Regions from separate parts of the Homo sapiens genome. Here region 2 is linked to region 1. The links are contacts of gene promoters, found by promoter capture Hi-C in blood cells and fetal thymus (Javierre and others, 2016). All regions are on one chromosome and are shown on one strand. The core of a region is centred on a gene start or on the middle of the fragment in contact, and the rest is flanking DNA. Distances in the headings are between cores, read along the strand shown. Region 1 holds the start of COQ3 (coenzyme Q3, methyltransferase). Region 2 overlaps ASCC3 (activating signal cointegrator 1 complex subunit 3).

Region 1 (6,138 bases), core at 407-2,906:
GAGAAATACTATGAGCTAGTTTTGCTTATTTGGGCCAGACCTGTTCTGGGTGTTCAAAAGACATACTTGTCAGCATAAAGCAAATCATTGATTCCCCTTCTTGTTAAAATGTAGTGGAAAGGCTCTGAAGCCCAGTGAAGTGTGGTACCTTCAAAGAAAGTACATATAAAGCTCCTAGAACTTTATTTAATTGTGCTTGCACTTTGCTTTTTCCTTGGATGTGTCACTCCAATAAATACAAGACGTGCTACATTTTCTTTTGTGCAGAGCTTTCTGCCTTCATGTGGAGAGAGGATCATGTATCTAAGGGTAGAGGAGCTCTGAAGAGGACATAGCAACTGAAAAGTGCGACCACCCTTAGGAGGAGGTCAATATTTTAGCTAAGAACCATGAATGAAAGACTATTGCTGTCTGGGTGAGGTGGCTCCCACCTGTAATCCCAGCACTTTGGGAGGCTGAGGCAGGCAGATCACCTGAGGTCAGGAGCTTGAGACCAGCCTGGCCAACATGGTGAAACCCTGACTGAAAATACAAAAATTAAGCCGGGAATGGCAGCATACACCTGTAATCCCAGCTACTTACGAGGCTGAGGCACGAAGAATCACCCGAGCCTGGGGGACGGAGGTTGCAATGAGCTGAGATCCTACCACTGCACTCCAGCCTGAGCAACCGAGTGAGGCTGTCTCAAAAAAAAAAGAAAAAAAAAGATTCCTGAGCGGTAAATTTCGCTAACTGAAAGAACCCTTTACCAATTTGACCCTACCTGTTGAAAATACAGAATAATTTTTTGTCTTCAATGTTGGAGATTCGTCATTGTTCTTACCCAAAGAAAGACTTTGTGCATTTAGACGTAAAATGTTACTGATCACTGTTCCTAGCTCTAAATGAAGTTTGCCTAGACTGAGCCACAGAAGCCTCCTACTACATGATGTATATACCCTGTACAAGATAATAGTCATTTGCAGAAAATAAGTTTTACATTTGGCCTTCTGGCCATCTGATATTTGAGTGCCTTGAAAGGGGAAACAATTCTTCCCTTGAGGAAGAAGTGCTCCCATACTCTTGCATTCTTAGCAGTAGGGTCAATGTCTTACAGGAATATAAAAGTCCTTGAAGAGACATCTGTTAAGTGTGAAATAGAGCTACATGGCAATAAAAGAAGACACAGCACGAAGTAATGGCCTGATTGAGGTCAACTTCGAACATGAGGTTTGAGGTGTCCTATAGCAATAAAGTATCTTCAAAGTTGTTTATGATAGTAAAAACATCTTGCAGTTTAATTCCATGTGCAATTTGCTAAATGAGCGTGAAAGTATAGCCATACATACATAACACTCAACAATACAATCATGAAAGTCGGCTGCAGGCCGGGCGCGGTGGCTCACGCCTGTAATCCCAGCCCTTTGGGAGGCCAAGGCGGGCGGATAACCTGAGGTCAGGAGTTCGAGACCAGCCAACATGGAGAATCGCTTGAACCCGGGCGGCGGAGATTGCAGTGATCCCAGAATCCGAGATGGGGACTGTACTCCAGCCTGGGCAACAGAACAGACTCTGCTAAAAAAAAAAAAAAAAAAAAAAGTCGGCTGCAGACGGCGAAAGTGATCTCGGAACCTTTATGTTGGGGATCTTTTTTCGGGAGGGACCGGAAAAGAGGTGGGATCGTTTGTCGCGATGTGGAGTGGCCGTAAGCTGGGCTCCTCCGGGGGTTGGTTTTTAAGAGTGCTGGGGCCTGGAGGCTGTAATACAAAAGCTGCGCGTCCCTTAATTTCCTCGGCGGGTGAGTGTGTGTGCGGAGGTCCTTCGCATGCAGTCAATTGCGAGCGCTGGCGTCTCTGCGCATGCGCCGGGGGTGGGGCGGTGGGTTGTCTCTGGACCTCGCGAGGGGTCAGCGCGAAACCTAAGGCTTGGTCCTGGCCCCATCTCTCTCCATTGTAAACCTCGCATAGTCCCGTTGGCGGACGCCGGGGAAAAGAGCTCAGGACCAGTGGTCCTGTCTGGAAAAGCGCAGGCCGCGGGTCTCTTGTGGCTGAGCTCCTTGCCCCAGGAGCCGGCGACCCGCTCTGCGTGTGCTGCAGTCTGAAGGTCATGCATCTTTCCTTTGCCGGGGCAGGAATAACTCACGCCTCGTAGTTATGCATAGCTTTGTATCTGTGTTTTGTTTGCACAAAGCTTGCTGTTTTTTTCAGAAAGAATTTAAGGCAGCTGTATTACTTTTTGATTAATAGGTTAATCCAACAGACTGCATTTGCAAATGAGATCAAGAAAATAATGCACTGCTCAGTGCTTGTAGACAGCAGTCTGATTTTCGAACTCTCAGTATTAAGTAGAAACTTAAGCTCATCTTTCACATGGAACTCTTAACAAATACTGTATGCCAGACACTGGTATGAGCACTGGGAATTTAAAAATGAATGACACCGCAAGGATCTCTTTAAAAATGTTAGGATAAACCTAAGATCAGGATATAATGAACAAAAAAATGGGGAATCTAACCGCCCATTAATAAAGGTTATTAGTTGGTACTATCATACAGTGAAAAATAGTACAGCCAATAAAAATGATTTAAATCTATTTGTACCCACATGGAAAAGTAGTAAGATATAGTGTTAAGAAAGTAAAGTTTCATTGTTTCCTGGAAGGAGCCAAAAAAAAAAAAAAGTTACAAATCAGTATGTATAGTGAACTTGGAGTTACAGGTGGAGATATATAGAGAAATTTTGCAGTGATTGCCTGTGGTAGAGTAGGTGATTTTCTATCATTTTATCCTTTATATACTTTTCTTTTTCTGAACTTTTTTTAGTAAACATGTGTCTTTTATAATCAAAAATTTAGAAAAGATATAATAAACCTAGTTCCAATTTTTGAGGGGTGAACATAGAAGGAGCATTTAATCCATATTTGGGATCAAGGAAACTTCTTGAATGGGATATTTAGAGAAATCTTGAAGGAGGTGGCCAGTTTTAGAAGCAGTTGGTCGAGACAGGCAGCTCACTTGAGGTCAAGTGTTCGAGACCAGCCTGGCCAACATGGTGAAACCCTATCTACTAAAAATACAAAATTAGCTGGGCGTGGCGGCAGGCGCCTGTAATCCCAGCTACTCGGGAGGCTGAGGCAGGAGAATCGCTTGAACCTGGGAGGCAGAGGTTGCAGTAAGCCAAGATCACACCATTGCACTCCAGCCTGAGCAACAGAGTGAGACTCTGTCTCAAAAAAAAAAAAAAGCAGTTGGAGAGGGGAAAGGACCAGCTCGAGAATCTGTGAGAAAGTTTGTGAGAAACTGCAAGGTTCCTTGAAAAGTAAAGTGTGTAGGTGGAGGGCAGAAGGTAAAGGCAGGGGGTGGCAAGGGATGAGGAAGAGGCCTTTTTGGCCATGACACATTCATGAAAGGCCATTTACACCTCCTGAGGTAGACTATCCCGCGGACAGTGGAAATCACTGAAGAAGCAACATGAACAGATTTATGTTTAAGAAATAACACTTGGCAGCTGTCTACATAGAATGTGGGATGGAGTCAGGCAAGTCTAGGCCCAGGAAGACCTTAGAGCAATCCAGACAGTAAATTATCATTGCTGGAAATAAAGTATTGGTAGGGTAAAAGTCTGTCACCTGTTTTATTCACCATCAGCATGGTGCCTGGTAGGTGCTGAATAAATGACTTTTCAATAAATAAAATGAAAAAAACCTTTTCCCATTCCTTTAAAATTTCAAATACCAGGATGATCACAGATTCAAGGTAGAGAAGGAATTGGTAGCATTCTGTTTAAATACAAACTCAATTACTCTCTTTCCGTTGTGGTAAGGTGGTAGAGTGGTTTTTATTTTTACTTTTTAGATTAATTAATTTTTTTTTTTGAGAAAAGGTCTTGCTCTGTATCCCAGGTTAGAGTGCAGTGGCATGACCACAGTTCACGGCAGCCTTGGCCTCCCTGGCTCAATTGGTCCTCCCACCTCAGCCTCCCAAGTAGCTGGGACTACAGGCAGGCACCACAATGCATGGCTAATTTTTATATTTTTAGTAGAGAAGGGGTTTCACCACATTGTCCAGGCTGGTCTTGAACTCCTGGGCTCAAGCAGGCCGCCCACCTTGGTCTCCCAAAGTGATGGGATTACAGGCATTGAGCCACTGCGTCTGGCCTAAGATGATTTTTAAACCTCTTGAGAATTGTAGCAATACTGATGACTTAGGGATTCATTTTCCAGAAATAGAGGAGGTAAGAGAGAGATCAAGGGTTGTCTGTCCGTAAAAGCAGATATTGTTAAAATTTCTAAGGCTTAGTTTCATAATAGTAATACCTTATATGTCGTTATCGATGTATCATGGTTTACATAGTTAAACTTTATTCTTTAATAATATCTCATGTATCTACCTAAAGTCATACAGGAGGTGATATTTGAACTGGGTCTTAAAAGGTAGTCCAGATAGAGTTGGTGGAAAGGGAAATAAAATGAACAAAAGCCTGGCCGAGCACCTTTAATCCCGGCACTTTGGGAGGTCGAGGCAGGTGGATCGCTTGAGCTCAGGAGTTTGAAACCAGCCTGGGCAACATAGCAAAACCCTGTCTCTACAAAAAAAAAAATACAAAATTTAGCCAGGCATGGTGGTGTGCTTCTGTGGACCTCGCTACTGGATAGGCTAAGGTAGGAGGATTACTTGAGCCCAGGAGGTAGAGGCTACAGTGAGCCGTGAACCCACCACTGCACTCCAGCCTGGGCAACACAACGAGACCCTGTCTCATAAATAAATAAATAAATAAATAAATAAATAAATAAATAAAATGAGCAAAAGCCTAGACACATGAACTTTATTAAAAAAGAACATTGTAATGGGTTTGGGATGGACTGTGAAGGGCTGATTAAAAAATAAAACCAAATAAACATAAGCTCAGGAGAAAAGTATGCAGAGACTACAAAAAGACAAGATGTGAAATATAAATGACCACTAAACATAAGAAAGGATGCTTAACCTCATTCATGATAAATTGAAACTACATTAACTGGGCACGGGGCCCATGTTTATAGTGCCAGCTACTCGAGGGGCTGAGGTGGGAGGATCGCTTGGGTGACCTTGGTGGAGGTTGTAGTGAGTGGAGATTGTTCCACTGCAGTCCAGCCCGGGTGACACAGTGAGACCCTGTCTCAAAAACAAAAACAAACAATTAAAACTACACTAAGATACCATTTTCATGTATTTGATTAGCAAACATAAAAATGTTTAACAAAGACTGGGCGCGTGGCTCACGCCTGTAGTCCCAGCACTTTGGGAGGCCGAGGCGGGTGGATCATGAGGTCAGGAGATCAAGACCATCCTGGCTAACACGGTGAAACCCGTCTCTACTAAAAATCCAAAAAATTAGCCAGGCGTGGTGGCGGGCACCTGTAGTCCCAGCTACTCGGGAGGCTGAGGCAGGAGAATGGCGTGAACCCGGGAGGCAGAACTTGTAGTGAGCTGAGATCTCGCCACTGCACTCCAGCCTGGGCGACAGAGCAAGACTCCGTCTCAAAAAAAAAAAAAAAAAGTTTAACATTGTATGGGTGACAGTGTGGGAAAACCAACAAGAGACACTCTCATAGATTACCGATAGGATAGTAAATTGGTTCAACATCTATTTAGTGGCAATTACAGATTTACAAATGCACGTACCCTTTGACATCATTCTTGAGATTTTACCTACAGGGACTCTGAAACACATATGAAATGAAATAACCTATGTAATTTAATCTCTAGTTGTTGTCGTTTTGAGACGGAGTCTCACTCTTTCGCCCAGGCTGGAGTGCGGTGGCGTGATCTTGCCCACTGCAATCTCCACCTCCCGGGTTCAAGTGATTCTTGTGCCCCAGCCTCCCAAGTAACTGGGACTACAGGCGCACCCCACCACGCCTGGCTAATTTTTGTATTTTTAGTAGAGACGGGCTAATGCCATGTTGGCCAGCCTGGTCTCAAACTCCTGACCTCAAGTGATCCGCCCACCTCAGCCTCCCAAACCGCTGGGATTATAGGCATGAGCCACCACACCCGGCCCTAATCTCATAGTTTTGATAATTACCCAAATGCTCATTATTAGGGAACTGCTTAAATAAATAATATAGCCATACAATGAATTATCACACAGCCTTTTAAAAAATATGAAATAATTTCCA
Region 2 (5,656 bases), core at 1,661-4,160, 1.3 Mb before region 1:
AGTAATGGCCACTGTCTATTTTTGTTTGATTTTTTTCTTTTAAGGTAAGAGTGTTAATTTTTTTTCTCAATTTCACAATCTTTAAATCATTGGTTCTACCAATGATTACCTAACTGGTCTCCCTTATTTCTCTCCTTCTCAGAAATCTTCAGTGGCTTTCCATTTATTTAGAAGAAAAGCCCAAGTCTTTATCCATGGATCACTTCAAACTCATGCGCAAAACATAATTTACTCCTGACCTTCTTAGTACCTAAGTTAAAGGCAATCATTGACTCTCCTCATTCTGTTTACCTTATCGTATATTCAGTGCACCAAGATAAGGATTAGCTTGAAACAATTCTAACTCCTTTTCTTTTATGTCATGTTCATCCCCCTTTCTAGACAGTCATCCAGTCTTGGTTACTTTCTAGCCAACTTTAACCTTGACTTTGTTTGGTTATTTCTGTTTCCCCTGCCTCCATCTTCTGCAGATTGCTGTAGTGGCCGATACCTGCTCTGGTCTTAGCACAACTGTGAAGTTACCTCTCTAAAGAACAAATCTGATACTGCTTAAAAACTTGAATTGGCTCCTTTTCCACCTATGTTCAAGACAATGTAAAGCCTGACCCCAATCCTTTTTTCTAGCTTAATTTTCTTAATTTTTGCCCCACACCCTCTGAACAGAATGCCCTCCAAACACACTGTGTGTGCTCTTTAATAATTCCCAGCTTAGGTACTTATATATCCTGCTGCCTACCTTTCCCCATTTAGCAGTTTATCCCTTGTCCTTCAAGACTCACGTTTCACATTTTCTGTAAAGACTTCTTTGATCAAACTATCAGATCACTGATTCATTCATTCAGGGAATGTGTAGTATCAGTATGAAGAAGGCACCCTGCCAAATGTTAGCGATACAAATGTAAATAAGACATAATTTTGTCATAAATGACAATATCATGTCATAAATAACAAAGTTTCATCTTGGTCCCTGTACCTCTATCATAAACACATTATATTTAATAGAAATCACTTGTATATGAGTCTGTCTTCCTTACCAGTCTGCAAATTATCCAAAGCTCAGATTTTGTCTTAAATTTCTTTGAATTCCTAGGATCTAATATATGATAAATACATGTTTCTTATTGATCTTCTCTTTGATTCTTTACAGTGCTTTTTTTTTGTCTGTTAGTGACTATCATGTTTCATAAATTTGTTAGGAGGTACTCTTCTTAGGAATGTAAATAATTTAGTACAATAACAAATACGAGGTTGCTTAGCACTAAATAGTCTCATGAGGTCAAATTGTACAGCTGTATTATAACACAGGTGGATAAAAACATCATTGCAAATATCCTTCTGTAAAAAACTCGCTCCTTATACTTTTGTGTGCAGTAGAATCACTTGAGGAGCTGATTAGATATGCACATCCAAGAACATGGAAGATGTTTAACATCATTAACTGTTAAGGAAACTTATGTTAAAACCATGGTAAGATACTACCACACACCTGTTACAATTGCTAAAATAAAAAATAATAATTATATAATGTATGGGAAGCTGGCAAGTATGGGAAGCAACTGGAACTGTTATACAATGCTGATGCAAATGCAAAATGTTAAAATTCTCCAGAAATGCTTTGGCATTTTTATAAAAGTAAACATACATTAACCATGTGACCCGTAAGATTCATGCCTGGTATTTACTTTGGAGGAATGAAATCATATTAATATATACAAAAAAGTGTACATGAATGTTTATAAATGTTCTGTTTATAATTGTGAAAACTGGAAACAACCCCCATGTCCTTCAGTGAGAGGTCCGATTAACAGACTGTAATGTGCCCATCTGTAGTACCGTGGAATACTACTCAGCAATAAAAAGGAATGAGATATTGATATATGCAACAACTTAGATGAATCTCAAAGCCATTAATCTGGGTGACAGAAACTAATTTCAAAAGTTTATAAGCTTTCTGACTCAATTTATATAGTGGTCTTGGAGAGACAAAACTATAGGGTTGGAGTACAGATTAGTACAGTGGTAGTAGTTGCGAAGAGTTTAACTATAAAGAAATAGCATGAGGGGGTTTTTTTAAGGTGGAGAAACTCCTCTTGATTATGATGGTAGCTACACAAATCTAACACAAATATGTCTTAAAATTCTTAGATGTGTACACTAAAAGTGGAAAAATAGTTTTGCTTTATGATGATTTTTAAAATCACATGAGGAACATCCCTGGGCCTCATCTCCAGGGATTCCAGTTCATTTTTTTTTCTTCTTTTTTTTTTGTTTTTTGAGACAGAGTCTCACTCTGTCGCCCAGGCTGGAGTTCAGTGATGTGATCTCGGCTCACTGCAGCCTCCACCTCCTGGGTTCAAGTGATTCTCTTGCCTCAGCCTCCCGAGTAACTGGGACTACAGGCACATGCCACCATGCCCGGCTATTTTTTTTTTGTTTGTTTGTTTGTTTTTGTTAGTAGAGACGGAGTTTCACCATGTTAGCCAGGATGGTCTTCATCTCCTGACCTCGTGATCTGCCTGCCTCACCCTTCCAAAGTGCTAGGATTACAGGCATGACCCACTGTGCCCGGCCAGATTCCAGTTCATTTTTGTTGTGAGCTAAGGCAGACCACAGATGGAAAATTCAGATTCAAAGATAGTTAAGAATAAAAAACCCAGACTTACTTTGATTGTTGTCACTTCAAGTCTGTAATGAACCAATAAAAAAAATGCACAGAGTATGCAAGAATAGAAATAGAAGTGACTCCTACCTCCTCCTAGTTCCTCACAGAGACCAGAGAGATATACCAAGTTGGTGGCCACTGACGCTGGTTGAATGTGAAACTGGCCACTGATGCTGGTTGAATGTGAAACCCATGTGATCAAGTGGGAGGTACTATGTCAGTACTCCAAGATCCACCTGCTACTTTATAAGAAACATCTCTATCACAGATACATACTTCCCTTGTTTAACTTCTTACTGTGTCATTGGTGCCACAGCAGTCCTAGCCATGTCTTCCCTCAAATGGGGTTTGACTAAGGAATCTATTTGTAAGAAGGACAGCAGAACATTTCAATGCAGGGAGCCCACAGAAAGCAGACTTAACCTAAAACCAAACAGCAATCCAGCAATATGATTTGAATATCACCTTCAACCAATAGTTTTAGTTTCCTCTGTTGGCTTTGAATATCCACTCTTGAATATTAGAAAAGAAATGAAGTAAGTGAAATGTTTCTCCTCTCCCTACCTTTAGCCTCTGAAGGAGCTCTTAGCAAATACACCACAATTGGACTTTTTTCCATATTCATAAGAGCTGCTTTAAGATTACAGTAACAATATTGCTTGTCTGAAAAGATGAAAGCTGAGGCAATGAGATCCAAGTGTAATTAGTCCTAAAGTATATGTATAAAATAATTTCTAACAGGCTGACTGCACTGCATAAGAATAAAGTAAGAATACACCCCCCTTGAAACTTTAAGAAGCTCTCCTCTTTTGTTATGTTTATATATGTATTTTGTTTTGGACCCTTAAGAGGCTCAAAATGTGTAAGTTGTTATTTACTTGGTTGGCCACTAGATGGTGTGGTTTGTTAATGCATTACTTTTGGTTTTATAATTGAAGCAGATTTCATGGAATACTATTTTCTTAGATAATTTTATTAGTTAAATATTATTAACTTAGAAGTTTAAAATTTTAAGTGACCTGAGAGATAATCAGTATGGCAAAGTCTAGAATGGAACCCCAGTCCCCTGAAATCTTACTCCCTGCCATTATCCAGCCCTTAAGTAAAAAGTGTAGGGAAAAAACTGTTCAAAAAGAAGCTCATGAATTGATAATGAGATTTTGAGACCAATAGCAAATAAACACATGATGTGATGGCCAAACAGAAGCTTTAACTATATAAACATTTCTTTAAATGTTAATCTAAGGTCTTTAATTTTTCTTAAAAATTCTGCCTATTGTATAGTGAATCTTCAGTGAGTCTTTTAAGACCTTCTGCTACAGCACTTACACAGGTGACATATAAGTATACTAAATCTCACCTCTGGGCTCAGATTAGGCCAAAGAACAGAACCAGAAGTAACATTATTACAGTAGTCCCCCCTTATCCATGGGGTATATTTCCAAGATATGAAACCACAGATACTAGTGAACTAACTTGATTGGTGTCAATTAAGTGCGTTTTTGTTTTCGTGTCTTCCACCCACAAATTTAAAGCCTTTTTCATCTTAACTATGTATCACACTGTAGCTGTAACTTGCAATTTGAGGTGCAACAGCAAAACTAACACAAATTTCTGTTTTCTTCTTTGTAATTTCACAACTAGAAGATTTGTTGCTCTTACCATCGATTTTAGCAACCTCAGCATACAATTTCGTTTTTATTCCCTTAAGTTGAAAACTTTCACCTTTTCACATAAAGGAAACACTTTATGGCTTCTCTCTGGCAAATTCAAGTTGCCAGCATCACTAATGTTGTGCTTCAGGGCCATTATTAAGTAAAATAAGGGTGACTTGCAAACACTGTGATACTTAAACAGTCAATCTGATAACCAAGCCTACTACTAAGTGACTAATGGGTGAGAAATGTCTACAGCTTATATATGCTGGACAAAGGGACGATTCATTTTCTGGGCTGGATGGAATAGGACAGTGTGAGATTTCATCATGCTACTCAGAAGAGCATGTAACTTAAAACATGATTTGTTTATTTCTGGAATATTCTACTTAATATTTTTGGACCACAGTTGACCTCAGGTAATGGAAACCACAGAAAGCAAAACTACAGATAAGGAAGGACTCCTCTATACTCAATGCACATCTATAGTTGAGGAGCTAAAACAGATGGTCAATGCTTTGCTATCAAAGATCACCAAGAACACAGCTGTAGGTGAACAAAGCTGGGTTTATTGACTTATCGCAATGAGGAATATCATAGGGGAAGCATCATGGGGATCTCAATAAGAAGGGAGAAGTCCTCAAAGGCAGTGGGTCTGAAGTAAAAGTGTAAAGGCTCTGAAGCAGATATGGACTTGTTGGAAAATATACTCAGAAAAGCCAGCCATTGTGGCTAGTGTGGATGAGGTAAGGGGATGAGATTGATTTCCATAGTCTTGCATTGTAATGACTCTGGCCTTTACTCTTAAGGAGTTGAGAAGCCACTGAGATTTAGTTTTATTTTGAATAGTGTATATTTTGAAGGCTAAGAAACAGGTAATACTGATTGATTGCAAAAAGGGACATCTGGATGAAAGAGACACTTGCTTTTCACCTCTTTCCTTTTGAATTTTGTGATATATTTTGGTATTACCTATTTTTTAAGATAGGTAACATTATTTTTTATGATTTTATATAAAGCATTATATACTAAGACCTAGTAATACCTTAAGATGCTTAAAAATAATTTTCTGATTTCTTTGATGAACTCATACAACAGAAATGCTAAAAACAATTGCTTTTAAATGCTAAATAATACTCTTACGCTTTCTTGGTATCTAGGTACAAAGGTCGAGAAATAAGCAAGTACGAGAATTATTCCCAGATGGTTTTAGTATTCATCATGCAGGAATGCTTCGGCAGGACAGAAATTTAGTTGAAAACTTGTTTTCTAATGGGCATATCAAAGTCCTAGTGTGTACAGCTACGTTAGCCTGGGGTGTCAATCTTCCCGCCCATGC

What was found. Contacts are between HindIII fragments. The CHiCAGO score rates a contact against its expected background, and 5 or more counts as called.
Region 2: a contact is called between a fragment that was not itself captured here and the fragment with the promoter of COQ3 in region 1, in 1 of 17 cell types (activated CD4 T cells). The highest score is 6.3, in activated CD4 T cells.

Annotation. Positions count from the first base shown.
Region 1 is chr6:99,389,713-99,395,850 of GRCh38, reverse strand. It overlaps COQ3 (coenzyme Q3, methyltransferase), which reads left to right and starts at 1,656. Exons shown (of 7, transcript NM_017421.4): 1 at 1,656-1,777. The coding sequence starts at 1,672. RefSeq lists an enhancer at 1,761-2,400. The HindIII fragment of the contact is 4,880 bases long and covers 1-2,171 here.
Region 2 is chr6:100,662,358-100,668,013 of GRCh38, reverse strand. It overlaps ASCC3 (activating signal cointegrator 1 complex subunit 3), which reads left to right. Exons shown (of 42, transcript NM_006828.4): 15 at 5,478-5,656. Among named protein-coding and RNA genes, the nearest start is that of SIM1, 200 kb to the right of the region's middle. The HindIII fragment of the contact is 1,922 bases long and covers 1,950-3,871 here.